Regions from separate parts of the Homo sapiens genome. Here region 1 is linked to region 2. Evidence: promoter capture Hi-C in human tissues and cell types (Jung and others, 2019). All regions are on one chromosome and are shown on one strand. Each heading gives the region's core, a stretch centred on a gene start or on the middle of the fragment in contact. The rest is flanking DNA. Distances are from core to core; before and after follow the strand shown.

Region 1 (3,217 bases), core at 518-3,017, 200 kb before region 2:
CTCCAGTGACCCTTTCCTGAACCAACCACAGAGCAGGAGTAGGTCCTCCTTATCTGGGCTTCCATTGTAGCCCATCTTTTATGTATCCCAGGACTGAATGCTTCTATACTAAATGTTTGTTTCTCTGCATTTCTTACTATATTCTTAGTGCTATGAGGGCCAAAACCTCATCATATTGACCAGGTATTCCCACATTCAAGAACAGAGTCTGGCAGTTAAGCACTTAATGTCCAAATGAATCAGTGTATGGAAGAAACAGATAAATGAGCACAGGGCAGGGACAGAGTAGGAATGAAATAAGAGGGTCCACGTTGGTGGACATAAGAGTATTAACATAATGGTGCACTGTGCCTGGCTTCTTGGCACGTGTTTGCTGTTGGCGGTATCAATTGTGGATGGACAGGTGAGACCTAAGGCTTCAGGATCAGGTTGGTAACTTTGCTGCCAATACTATGGGCATACTGTTTTTTTTTCTGCCCACTCTATCACTTCCCCATGCTCTACTATACACTGCCCTTTTTCTTGATCCTTAATTTCTTATGAGCAACTCTACTATTGTCCATTGAGGGCACAGTTGTTTCTCACTTCAAAGACACTGCAATACCCTGTCTCAGGATAATGTCTCTTTATAAACTTGGACTTTTTTGTATTGTATTTTACCAAATTCTGCACATACTTCTCTACTTAATATTATAAATATATATTTTTCTGGCCTGAATTTTAAAGCTAGTTTTTTAAATTTTAAAAATAAAATCTTAAATGCTGCTTAAATGTTATTGGATGTGGAATGTTTTACCTTCATGAAGGGGCTGCAGGGTCTTTTTCCCAGTATATATTTCAGCATGTCATGGATGCTCAAGTCTCTGGGAAAACCTAGAGTCTTGCTTATAGAATGTGGTCCAAACTAGGCAATTACTTGATGTCTCTCTCTTCCTAAAAATGTATGAAACCAAGAAAAGGGAATTATTATTTTTTTAACCATAGGTGAGTCTCTAACGAATGTGCACAGTAGATTTGAAAGATTAACCTGTATGAAAGTTCAAAACCAACTAATGGTAACTGATTAGATACTATATAAACGGCAGGGAGAAAAACAAATGCTTAAGGGTAGATTTTATGTAATTTATGTAGCTTTGATTATTTGTATTTTAGCTTTCTTTAAATAACTCACCAAGAACTGTTGAAAACACCCTCTCTTTCTCATAGAGAAAATATATTTCTTAGTTTGTGGAAGGACTTGCTAGCTCTCTAACATATTGTAGGTGACATTTTGTGTGACAGCAAAAATATGTGAAAATTGTATTATGTAAATGATATTTTATAAATTAACTGCAATTAAAAATGATAGTCTCTCAGATGTTATTTTACTTTTATAGGATAACATCAGTGACTATCATATTAGCAACTAAAAATGCAGCCAGGCATGGTTAATCCCAGCACTTTGGGAGGCCAGGGTGGGCAGATTGCTTGAGGCCAGGAGTTCGAGATCAGCCTGGGCAACATGGTAAAATCCCATCTCTACTAAAAATGCAAAAATTAGCTGGGCATGGTGGCATATGCCTGTAATCCCAGCTATTCAGGAGGCTGAGGCACAAGAATCGCTTGAACCAAGGAGGCAGAGGTTGCAGTGAGCTGAGATTGTGCCACTGCACTCCATCCTAGGTGACAGAGCAAGACTCTGTCTCAAACAAAACAAAACAAAACACACAAAAGAATTAAAATGCAATACTTTGGGCTGAGCAATGAGTTTAATTTATTTGGCCTTTGTTTATCTTTGAATAAACAGAGGCTAATGATGAGGTTAATTTTTTGGGCCTTTGTTTGTCTTTGTCTTTGAAACACAAAGACAACTGAGGCATAGCCCATGTGCTCAAAGAGCTTTCAAATCAAGTACAGGAGAGAAGAGAAATAACCAGACAGAACATGATCAGCCACATTAGGAAAGGCATCAGGTTGTAAGCAAGTTCAGAGCCCTGACAGACCCTTTATGTTTGGGAGCATATACGAAGTCTTCTTGGAGATGGTGGCCTTGAAACTAGGTCACAAAATATGAGTAGGACTTGGGAGAACTCTTCCAAGATGGCCAAATAGGAACAGGTCCAGTCTGCAGCTCCCAGCAAGACTGACGCAGAAGATGGGTGATTTCTGCATTTCCAACTGAGGTACCTGGTTCATCTCAATGGGACTGGTTGGACAGTTGGTGTGGCCCATGGAGGGCAAGCCAAAGCAGGGTGGGGCATCACCTCACCTGGGAAGCACAAGGAGCTGGGGGATTTCCCTTTCCTAGCCAAGGGAAGCCATGAGAGACTGTACCAGGAAGAAGGATACACTCCTGCCTCAATACTGCATTTTTCCCACATTCTTTACAACCTGCAGACCAGGAGATTCTCTCCTGTGCCTGGCTCAGTGCGTCCCACACCCACAGAGCCGAGCAAGCTAAGATCCATTGGCTTGAAATTCTTGCTGCTAGTGCAGCAGTCTGAGATTGACCTGGGACACTGGAGCTTGGAGCGGGGAGGGGTGTCCACCATTGCTGAGGCTTGAGTAGGTGGTTTTATGCTCACAGTGTAAACAAAGCTGCTGGAAAGCTTGAAATGGGCAGAGCCCACCGCACCCCAGCAAGGCCAACTGCCTCTCTAGATTCCACATCTGTGGGCAGGGCATATCTGAAAAAAAGGCAGCAGCCCAAGTCAAGGACTTATAGAGAAACCCTCGTCTCCCTGGGACAGAGCACTTAGGGGAAGGGGCAGCTCTGGGCACAACTTCTCCAGACATAAACATCCCTGCCTGTCAGCTCTGAAGAGAGCAGTGGTTCTCCCAGCATGGGAGAAAGACACCTCATACAGGAGAGCTATGGGTGGCATCTGGCAGGTGCCCCTCTGGAACGAAGCTTCCAGAGGAATGATCAGGCAGCAATACTTGCTGTTGTGCAGACTCTGATGGTGATACCCAGGCAAACAGGGCCTGGAGTGGACCTCCAGCAAAGTCCAACAGACCTGCAGCTGAGGGGCCTGAGTGTTAGAAGGAAAACTAACGAACAGAAAGGAATAGCATCAACATCAACAAAAAGGACATCCACATCAAAACCCCATTGGTAGGTCACCAACATTAAAGAACAAAGGTAGATAAAACCACAAAGACAGGGAGAAACCAGAGTAGAAAGGCTGAAAATTCCAAAAACCAGAACGCCTCTTCTCCTCCAAAGGATCACAACTCC
Region 2 (3,142 bases), core at 479-2,978:
TACTGCACCATAATTTTTCCCATCCTAACTAATGTAGATTACTATAAAAGTGATCAGGAAAACTGCAAAGGCTGATCATCGTGGCAATTGTGAGTGGAAGTGGTTAACTAAAACCATCCACTGACAATTCCAAAATCACCTTCACTAGTGATTTCACCTGCACTCCAATTGTGACCGTTCTAGAAAAGGTGATTATGCGTTCAAACTTTATTATTTTTAACTTATGAAGATGCAAAATTACATCTTCACTACTGAAGTCATAATGAGCAAAGAAATACTTTCTCATAGGAAGAAAAAGAAGGTGGATAAGGATAAGCCACAAAACAGGGAAGGTGGTACTGAATTCAGAGTTTATGAGATTTCCAAGAAGAATTAAACATATTTCCCACAGACTTGTGAATAAATTTCCAGAAATACACAGTACTTCTTAGCAAACGTTGGGTAGCTTAGCTTCGGCTTGATAAACTGCACTTATACGGAAACAAACGCACAATCGCTCTGGTGCAAAAGTAAAAACTGTGATTGGAGTCTGTATTTAAACGTAAGATTCCTCTCTAGCTCTCTCTGAAGAAGTTATTTTCTCTAGCACGTGGTAGAATTCATTCCATTAACCTTTGTAAAGTGCTTAATCCCGTGTCACGCACTGTACTAGGGTCTAGCGAGTGACAGATGTCACGGTACAGAGATCTCAGTGGGTCGCTGCCCTCCAGGAGCTTATAAAGAAAATTTTCCTTCTGCAGTTTTCAGCCGGCTACACCCAGTCCCCTGCAAGTAATTTTCAGTGAAAAAAACCCGCATCTTTTTCCTAGTCCTTGCAAATATTCTGGCTTTCCGAGATCTCTTCGCCTTGAATACCGAAGTCACTCCGGGATCTCTCTCTGGACGTTTGGCAGTTATTCCAGATGTAGCCGAATGACCGGCTTGCCCTTTCCCTGCGGAGTGACAGGAAGACAGCGACCCCGGAAAGTTTCCAGCACTTAAAACGCAAAGCGCAGCCTGAACCCACAAGGAGCCGACAACTCTTGCGGCTTCCACCACCCTTCTATCGCGGAGCCTAAGGAAGCTAAAGCAGTCGGGTCAGACCCGGCCACCGGGCAGCGCATGGTTCCGGGCGCAGGGAGCGACAGACTCAGCCCCCCAGCGGCGCGGCGCAGAGAAGTTGCAGGCCAGCCTGCATACCCAAGTGCGGGGGGGAAGAAAAACAAACAAACAAAAAAAATCCTTTCTTCTGGACTACAATGACCGGCAAGCAACGCGCCACGGCGCCAAGTTCAGCTTCGGGATCCTGGCGAAATGGAGCCTGGGAAGTGAAGTCTCCGGACTGTCGGAGTCCCGTAGTGAAGGCAGAAAGTAGGCGTTGCTAGTCCGCTCCACTAGCACGCCGGTTCCTGGCTGGGCTCCGGGTCTCTCGCTCCCGCTCAGGGTTTTCGCGGGCGGCGGGAGCGGTATGGCTCGCCTGAGTAAACTCCAGCGGGAGGGGGAGGAGGGTAGTGGGTGGGGAGGCGGGGTCAGCGGAAGCGGCAGGTTGCTTCCTTCTCCTCTGGCTCCCTCCCCGCCTCTCCCTGAGGGAGCGGTGGGAGGGGGAGGGCAGGGCAGAGGGAAGGTAGTGACACGTGTCAATCAACCCCCCTCCGGGGGGCGCGCGCTCCGGGGCTCGCGCCGAGGGCTCGCGCCCCTGCCTCGTGCCTGCGCTGCTCGTATGTAAATGAGGGCGCGTGACGCGGGACGCAGATGGACAAGGGAAGAGAGAGAATGGCCGCTGCCGCCGCCGCTGCTGCCGCCGCCGCCGCCGCCGCTCAGTGCCGGAGCCCTCGGTGCGCGGCGGAGAGAAGAGGATTCCGGCGGGAACTCGACTCTTGGCGCCACCGCCTCATGCACTGTGTAGGTAAGAGAGACGCGGGCCGGGGCCCCGGGCTCCGCGCGGCGACCGCTGTCGCAGCCCGAGGAGTTTGTGGCTGAGGGGTTTAGTTGAATCTCCCGTTCGGGTTAGTTCGGTGGGGGAGCGAGATGGGAGCGGCGCGGCGCGGCGGCCCCGGCGCTCGCCTTTTGTCTTGCGGGCTGCTGGCCCGGCGCGGTCCGCGCTCCTTCGCCTTCCCAGCTCTTGGGCTCCCCGGGAACTGTTAGTTTGGACCCGCTTGCTGAGCCCCCGCGGAAGCCGCCCGCTCGCTCTCTCCCCGAAACTCCTCGGCGCCCGTCGCTGCCCGCCGTCGCCCGCCGTCCACCCTGACAGGACGGAGGAAGCGGCCCGGTGGGTCGGCGCCCTGGCGGAGGAGAGCCGGCGGGCAGGGCGGCCGGAGGAAGGCGGGCTGGTCCGCGCCCCCGCCGAGCGCACACACACCCCCTTGTCGCCGCCGGGGGCCGGGTGAGCAGACGCGGCCAGTTCCCGGGGACCTGGACCTGGAGACCCACGGGCACTCGCAGGGCGGGGGCCGCTGATGGGCCGGCTGGGGGCGAGGGGCGGCGGGGGCGTCGTCCGAGGGGCGGGGGGCGCCCAACTCTGCCCTCTCGCGCTCGGCGGCGGCGCTGTGTGTACCCCTTTAAGAAGGAGCCGCTTGAGCGCTGACGGTTGGGATTTGAAGTTCTTCCTCCCTCTTTGGAAGTCTGGACGGATGGGGGGTGTTGCCACGGCAACGACACCCTCCCCCCCGTCTGCTTGCGGACGCCCCGACGACTCTGGTCCTCTTTCACTGTCATGTGATGGACTCTTCCTTACACACACACACACATATACACGCATACGCATCGCCCTCCCCACCTCCCATCCCCATTCAACTGCAATTCCCTCTTTTTGGTTGGATCTGAATCGTTTTGCCTCAAACTTCTGGGCTTGGGGCTCTCACCCTGTGGATTGTTTAGGGTGACAGGAATGGTGGGACTCCCGACCTTGCTGCAGTCGCTTTTTTTTTTTTCTTTTTTTGCCTAAGACGAATGCATAGAGCTGTTATCCAGCAGGTTGGTTTAGTGGGCTTAGAGGGGCGAACACGGATTATGGAATGGGGCGCGTTGTGGGTGTTTGTTTTGGAAGGGGGTTATGGGTGGGAGTGTAGGGGAAGAGGTAGAAAGGAAGGTTGTATTGTGTAAGCAGTGGATAGTGGCAGCAGCTTGCTCTACTGGCGAGTGAATCTTGGCATTTGGAGTTGGG

The links. The method cuts DNA at HindIII sites, captures the fragments that hold promoters and counts their contacts. A contact is called where the count stands out against the background at its distance.
Region 1: a contact is called between a fragment that was not itself captured here and the fragment with the promoter of LCORL in region 2, in 1 of the 25 tissues and cell types used here (dorsolateral prefrontal cortex).

Annotation. Positions count from the first base shown.
Region 1 is chr4:18,224,360-18,227,576 of GRCh38, reverse strand. It overlaps LOC107986262 (a long non-coding RNA gene), which reads right to left. Exons shown (of 3, transcript XR_001741598.1): 3 at 812-933. Among named protein-coding and RNA genes, the nearest start is that of LCORL, 200 kb to the right of the region's middle. The HindIII fragment of the contact is 5,253 bases long and covers 1-3,217 here.
Region 2 is chr4:18,020,341-18,023,482 of GRCh38, reverse strand. LCORL (ligand dependent nuclear receptor corepressor like) reads left to right here and starts at 1,728. Exons shown (of 8, transcript NM_001394446.1): 1 at 1,728-1,885. The coding sequence starts at 1,732. RefSeq lists an enhancer at 1,097-1,356 and silencers at 1,407-1,866, 2,187-2,516. The HindIII fragment of the contact is 18,207 bases long and covers 1-3,142 here.